Linked DNA regions of Homo sapiens: region 1 is linked to region 2. Evidence: promoter capture Hi-C in 16 types of primary human blood cells and fetal thymus (Javierre and others, 2016). All regions are on one chromosome and are shown on one strand. Each heading gives the region's core, a stretch centred on a gene start or on the middle of the fragment in contact. The rest is flanking DNA. Distances are from core to core; before and after follow the strand shown. Region 1 overlaps GGACT (gamma-glutamylamine cyclotransferase). Region 2 holds the start of ZIC5 (Zic family zinc finger 5).

Evidence for each region. The method cuts DNA at HindIII sites, captures the fragments that hold promoters and counts their contacts. A CHiCAGO score of 5 or more calls a contact.
Region 1: a contact is called between a fragment that was not itself captured here and the fragment with the promoter of ZIC5 in region 2, in 1 of 17 cell types (M2 macrophages). The highest score is 6.0, in M2 macrophages.

The regions. Positions count from the first base shown.
Region 1 is chr13:100,534,038-100,536,737 of GRCh38, forward strand. The region is part of intron 2 of GGACT (gamma-glutamylamine cyclotransferase); the gene reads right to left. Among named protein-coding and RNA genes, the nearest start is that of GGACT, 53 kb to the right of the region's middle. The HindIII fragment of the contact is 7,689 bases long and covers 1-2,700 here.
Region 2 is chr13:99,969,744-99,973,613 of GRCh38, forward strand. It overlaps ZIC5 (Zic family zinc finger 5), which reads right to left and starts at 2,024. Exons shown (of 2, transcript NM_033132.5): 1 at 384-2,024. The coding sequence starts at 1,860. The HindIII fragment of the contact is 20,418 bases long and covers 1-3,870 here.

The DNA.
Region 1 (2,700 bases), core at 167-2,666, 560 kb after region 2:
CCAATCATGTGGACAAGTGGACCCTGAAGAAACTGAAGAAGTCACACTGAACTCATGGGACTTCTGTTTTCTTCTCAGCAAACAAGAGCTGCTCTGGGGGGTTCTAGGCCTCATTTTGCTCAAGAGGCACGTCTGCTGCCTCTTGGTTCTATCACCAGCCTGTGCAACAACAGTATTCCCCAGATTTCAGGCACATTGCACTAGGAAAGGTGTGGCCGTGGGAAAAACACAAGGCTAGCCAGATACGTGCGCCCTGTGGGCCTGGCCATGTGATAGCCCTGGGACACCCTTCCCAGTGTGGGGACACAGATTAGACCTGGGGGGCATGCTGGGATAGGAAAGTTGAGATGTGAATTAAGGAGAACCTGGGGTAGGACGGTACTGAGGAAGAGAAGAGGCAAGTGCTCAGGCCTAAAATTGCCAGGACTCGGCTGCTGGGGTGTACGTGAAAATGACAAAAGGCACCAGCTGAGAGCAGCGCTGGTGTCTGGAGAGGGCACTGGATGGAAGCAGCTGTCTACAACAGCGGGCAAGGAGCTATCCCAAAAGACGAGCACCTGGGGGGCGATGATGGTTTGGATCCTGCTGTGCAGCTGCCTTGGGGACTCAGCATTTGGAAGGATTCATGTCCCTCCCCACACCTGCATCCCAGCCCCCAGCGAGACCCATCAGCACTTCCCCTGCCACGTCTCCCAACCTGCTCTCCTCCTCCAATGCCTGCCTGCATCCCTGTTGTCTTTGTTCCCCTGGATCCTGCCCCCAGTGCACCACCCAGAGGGTCCTTGTCAATCTCCTGCTGCAGACTTAACTCTCCCACCTCATCTCCTGCACCCTCTCTCCCCTCATCCAGGTGGCTCCTGCCCCGACCAGCGCCTGACCTGGAGGGTGCAGGAGTAGTAGGCAGGGCCTACTCAGTCTGTCACATCACTCTGTCTGGTTGTCGTTATAGCACACGTGCTCTCTAAATCACTGGTCTTGTTTGTTGCTGGAACATGAAGGGCCAGAAGAGAACTTGGAAACTGTTTGGTCCAGCACCTGCAGGTGAGGAAGCCGAGTCCCAGGCTGGTGGCGATCTAGGACCAGCCAGCCGGGCAGGGCCGTAGTCACACTGCAGACCAGCTCTCCACTGCCAGGTGCCTGCCTGGCTTTCCCTGATGCAGTTTTTTAAAATGGCATGTGTCCAAAATGTCAATAGATTGCTTTGTAAGAAAAATGAAGTTTCCTACCCCTTTCCACTCCCTGGAGGCAACACTTTTAAGGCTTTTAACTGTTGTGTTCAGCATTTATCTCCATATTGTTACTTACGCTGCTACTTCTTGATGTCTTAAATCATATCTTGCCCTTCTACTCAAAAAGTGGGTGAGCATAGTGGTTCTAAAGCACAGACTTTAACTGTGTGACTTTAGGCAGATCATATAACCTCTCTGTGCCTCAGCTTCCTCAACTGTAAACTGAAGTCACAGTAGCAGCCTGCCTCAGAGACCGCGGTGGGTACCAACACACGTGGTCCTGTGTGATCTGCTGACATGTAGCGTGTGCCGCTGCTGTCATCACTGTAGAAGCCTGACCCTTGGCTCTCCTACCACATCCCGCCATCCTCCCAACAGACTCATCATAGTTTTGGGTCAGACCCAGATCTATTTCGGCATTAGAACCATGCAAACACGGCTCTTGGCTAAGACACAGAGCATACTATGATTACATTTCCTTTCTTGGACAACTTTATGTTTTCCTTGAAATTAAAAATTGCTTCAAGTTTGTTTTTTTTGTTTGTTTTGCATTTCGCTTAGTTTCTAGGATTGTAATTCAGCCTCGCAGTTTCTGAGAGCATGGCCAGAACCCGGGTCCTGACCATCCGCTGGAAGGTCCTCCCTGCCAGCTCTAGTCTGGGCTCTCTGTGTCGCTGCCATCCAGGCCACCCTCATTCCTGTCCCGTCCTCTGGCTGGGATGTTGGCCACATTTTGCTGAAGTGTATTCTCTCCCACTTTTGGTTAATAACATGGCTGCGTAGAGGATTCTAGAAATCATTTCCCTCAGAACTTTAAAGACATTTCTTCATTGTCTTCTAACTTTCCGAGTTCTTGCAGAGAAGTCAGTGTGCTGTGATCCAGGTCCCCTGTGTGTGTGACTCGAGCTCTTCCCTGGAGGCTCTTAAGGGCTTCCTTTTATCCCTCAGATTCTAGAATTTTCTGATGATGTAGACTCTGTTTTCATTGATTGTGCTGGAATTTTGATCTGAATGCTCCTTATCCTGGATCACGGGGGCATTTTCTTACCCCTCCTTCCTCTCTGTTCTCTTTCTGGCTCTCCCAATATTCCGGCAGTGGAGGTCCTGACTTCAGCCTCCAATGTTTTTATATTTTCTCCTTTCCTCCAGGTCTATATTATATTCTGCTTTATCTTGCATTTCTTCTATTAAAAATTTTTTTGCCATGATATTTATTTCCAATATATTTTTCTTGTTGTGTGTTTTTTTTTTCAACTTCTTGTTCATTCACAGGCTCAATATATATATATTTTTTAAGTTTTCTTCATTCCCTTCATTGCCTCCATTTCTCCTAACTCCCTCTTTTCTCTCTGTTTTGGTATCTGTGTTTCAAGAGATTTTCTTCACATGTGATCTTGGCTGGGAAAGCTGAGCCACTCTTTGGAAGTGAGGCTGAGCTGTCAGGTGGCAGGCCTCACACGGGACTCTGGGG
Region 2 (3,870 bases), core at 774-3,273:
GGCCGGGCGGGTGGGGACTGCCGACCGTCCTGGGCGCCTTCCTGCTCCAGCTGCTGCTGCGTCTGCTCCGAGGTGGCGGCGGCGGCGGCTGGCGCGCGTTGCGGGTCCCGGCCGAGGGGCTGCGGGCGCGCTGGAGACTCCGCCGTGTGGGAACCCAACGCGGGGCCTGTGTGTGCTATCGAATTACTTATTCATAGAAAAAAAAAAGGGGGGGAGAGAAAAAAAAAGAAGTCACATGTCCGGGTTATACGTATGCGAAGAGAAGCAGCAGAAGGAGAAAAAAATTAAGGCGAGCAGGAGGAGGAGGAGAAGCAGCGGCGGAAGCGGCGGCGGCGCAGGAGCTGGTGGCGGCGGCGGCGGCGCGGCCGGGGACAGACACCCACCTGTATGAGTACGCTTGTGGATCTTGAGGTTCTCGGAGCGCGCGAAGACCTTGCCGCAGCCGGGGAAAGGGCAGGGAAAGGGCTTCTCGCCGGTGTGCACGCGGATGTGGTTGATGAGCTTGTATTTGGCCTTGAAGGGCTTGCCCTCGCGCGGACAGTCCTCCCAGAAGCAGACGTGGCTGCTCTGCTCGGGGCCTCCCACGTGCTCCACCGTGACGTGATTCACCAGCTCGTGCATGGTGCCGAAAGTTTTGGAGCAGGGCTTGGCGCCGCCGGCCGGGGGCGGTGGCGGCGGCGGCGGCGGCGGCGGCGGCGGCGGCGGCAGCCCGGCCAGCTCGTCGGGGTCGATCCACTTGCAGATGAGCTCCTGCTTGATTGGCTGCCGCATGTAGCGCAGGAAGGCCCCAGCCGCCCCTGGGAGGTGGGGGTGGTGCTGGTGCGGGTGCTGCGCGGGCGCCGGCGGCGGCGGCGGCGCCGGGGGCGGCGCGTGGTGCTGCAGGTGGGGCCCGGGCCCGGCCGCTGCTGCGGCCGCCGCAGCCGCCAGGTTCAGGTTTAAGTTCACGGCTCCGTAGCCGTGCAGGGCGGCCGCCGCTGCGGCCGCAACCGCCCCGTAGTGCGCGTCCCCAGAGCGCGGCGCGAAGGGCGGTTCGGCGCGGCCGTACAGCTCAGCCGCCGCGGCTGCCGCTGCCGCCGCCAGCCCCAGGCGCATCTGGCCGTTGAGCGGGTGCGGGTGGCCGCCTGGGGCCCCCGGCGTGTCGTGCAGCGCGGGGAAGAGCGCCGGGCCGCCGCTGCCGTCCGGGCCCGCGTAGGTGCCGCTGGCGGAGATGAACATGCCGGCCGAGTGGGGAGGCGGGGCCGGGTGCTGGGGGGAGCCGGTGCCGGACCGCTGCTCCCCTCCGAGCGGGGCCCCGTGCATGGCCGCCGCGGGGGCCGTGGCGGAAAGGTCCCTCCGGAGGACGAAGTCCCTGCTGTGGCCTTTGCCGCTGCTGCCGCCGCCGCCACTGTTGGTGGTGGTGTAGCCCGAGAGGGCAGGAGGAGGAGGAGGCGGGGGAGGGGGAGGGGGTGAAGGGGTGGGAGGAAGAGGAGGGGCTGGGGGCGGGGGCGCGGAGGGCTGCGCGCCACTGCTGCCCCCGCCGCAGGGGTAGCTGCCCGCGCCGGGGTGCGCGACCAAGGCTGCAGCACGGGCGGCGGCTGCCGGAGCCTCCGGGTGTGCCGGGAACGCCTGGGAGGGAGGGCTGAGGCCCAGCGTGCTCGCCTGGGCCATGTGCTCGGGTCCGAGCGGAGTGGTGGCCACGCCGGGGTCAGCGCCCAGGTCCCGCAGGCGGAGGTGCGCGACGGCGGCCCGGAGTTGGGAGTGGGCGGGCGGGCCGGCCAGCGCCGGGAAGCCTGTCATATTCTGAAGCGGCTGGACCTGAGCCGTTGCCAAATCCGCTAATCTCAGCGCTGGCGGGTTCCTCTTGCTCAAAGGGGGCTCCATCAGAACTACACAATCAGGCCCATAGACCCTCACTGGGGGGACTTTATTCCCTCTGCCCGCCTTCAAAAACATGTATGTATTGGGCGCTCTTTAACTTCTTTTGTCCTGGCCTCTTAACTCTGCTTATTCCTGTTCCCACTCTATCCTCCAGCGATTGGCAGAGTGAACACCACATTTGAGCTGCACAGTGGGACCGAGATTTTGGAAATGGCACGGGTGGGATTGGAGGGAGCCGCGTGATTGGCAGTAGCCTCGGCTGCTCGATTGGCTCCCGTTCAGGCCCTCGACCCAGCGGGGATTCGCCCCCGTGCTTGCGGCCGCCTGCGCTTTCGCTTCGCGCCCCCTCCTCCGCTGGAGCCACACGTCCCCGCCTCCCCGGGGATGCCCAAGTTGCACTTGCAGAAAGTTTGAGCCTGGCCTGCGCGCGCAGCGCCCCGCTCTTCCTTGACGCACCTCGCGGAGCGCGCGCCGGCACGCGGGCAGAGGGCGCGGGGTGGTGAGGGGCTGAGGACCCCCGAGGGGCAGTCCCAGTTTCAAAAACCTTGGCCTCACTTCTCTGTGTGCCTTCTGGCACCCAAGTACTTTCTGCCTCTACCTCCACCTCTCTTGTGGGGTGGAAGAGCCCTGGGCTGCTGTTTGGGAGAGAAGGGTGAATAGCCCGTCCTACCTGTAGTGGTGATGCTAGAAACTTCTTGTTTGGACACCCAACCTGCCTAGCGCTCACCTAGGGCGCATAGACAGTAGACGGAGTGAAGAAGATAAAGTCTATTGGTTGCAAGACAACTTGAGTGATTTGGCTCCGCGAAACACCAGGTGAAGTCAAAATAAGTCTTTCCCCCAAAGGAACCGTTTTACCTCGACTTTTTATCTCATGGAGAGTCCTTTTCAACATGGTTCAAAGGAGTTGGATGGAAGTGTAATCTCACTACTCATCGGTTCTAGATCTGCCACTTCCAATTAGATCTACAGTAGGGGCGGGGGAGAGGAGATCGGGCAGCGATTCTAACTTTTGCCTTTCGGAGATACAGTGGCGGGGCAGGCCAAACGGCATCTCTGCAGAGAGAAGCCGCTAAATAAGCACCGTCCTTTAAGTAGAATTTCTCCTTCCGGTCCAGATCCCAGTCCACAGTCCACATGTATGCCTCAGTTTCTTTGACTGATCCACAATTAGAACTGATCCAATAAAATATTATTTTGAAATCAAGAAATATCTTTGCTTTTTATTTACTGATAGAATAATCTTTCACCTTTTTATCGTTTTCTCATAAACCAGTCTACCTCTAAGATGTCTTATTTGAAAACCATAAAAACTGGCTTTTAAAAAAGCGAATCCCATCCCTTTCCAGAGGTTTGGTATCAAATCGATTTTTTAAAAATAGAAATTCCCTGCATCACTTTTTGGTGGGCGGAGAAATGTGGGACCCTCCCCCCAAATTAAGGATTTTACTGCCCCAAAAGTGTCCTTTTCAGATTTTAAAAGAAAGCATTTTTGAAATTTGTGATGTTACAAAATGCTCAAATATTAAAGCCAGGATTTTAAAATTTGTATTTTGCTGTCATCCGTAACATTACTTGTAAAAAAAAAAAAAGTGATAATGATTAGAATGTGATCTTTTTCTTTGGGGATACAATAAAATATGTTTCCAACTTAATTCATTTGCAGTCCAAGTAAAAGTAGACTGCACAAAGCCGTTATTGGGGAGATGGCCGTGGGAAGTAATCAGAAATATTCTGAAAAGAGTTGATTCGATAGTGCCATTCACATTGGTGTGAACGATGTTTAACAGGGGGCTTCGGTATGAGACTTAGGAATGTCATTTCTTTTATAAAACTGACAAGCAAACAAAGACAATGCTACCATCAAATTTCAAATGGACTTTTTCTTTAAGTTGCAATGAAGTTCAAATATGGGGAATTAAAGGCATGTGTGGAAACACAACGAAAAAATTTTAATAAACAGCAGTAACAAAATCTTCATCTCACTTTGGAAACGACGAGTCCTTTCACAAT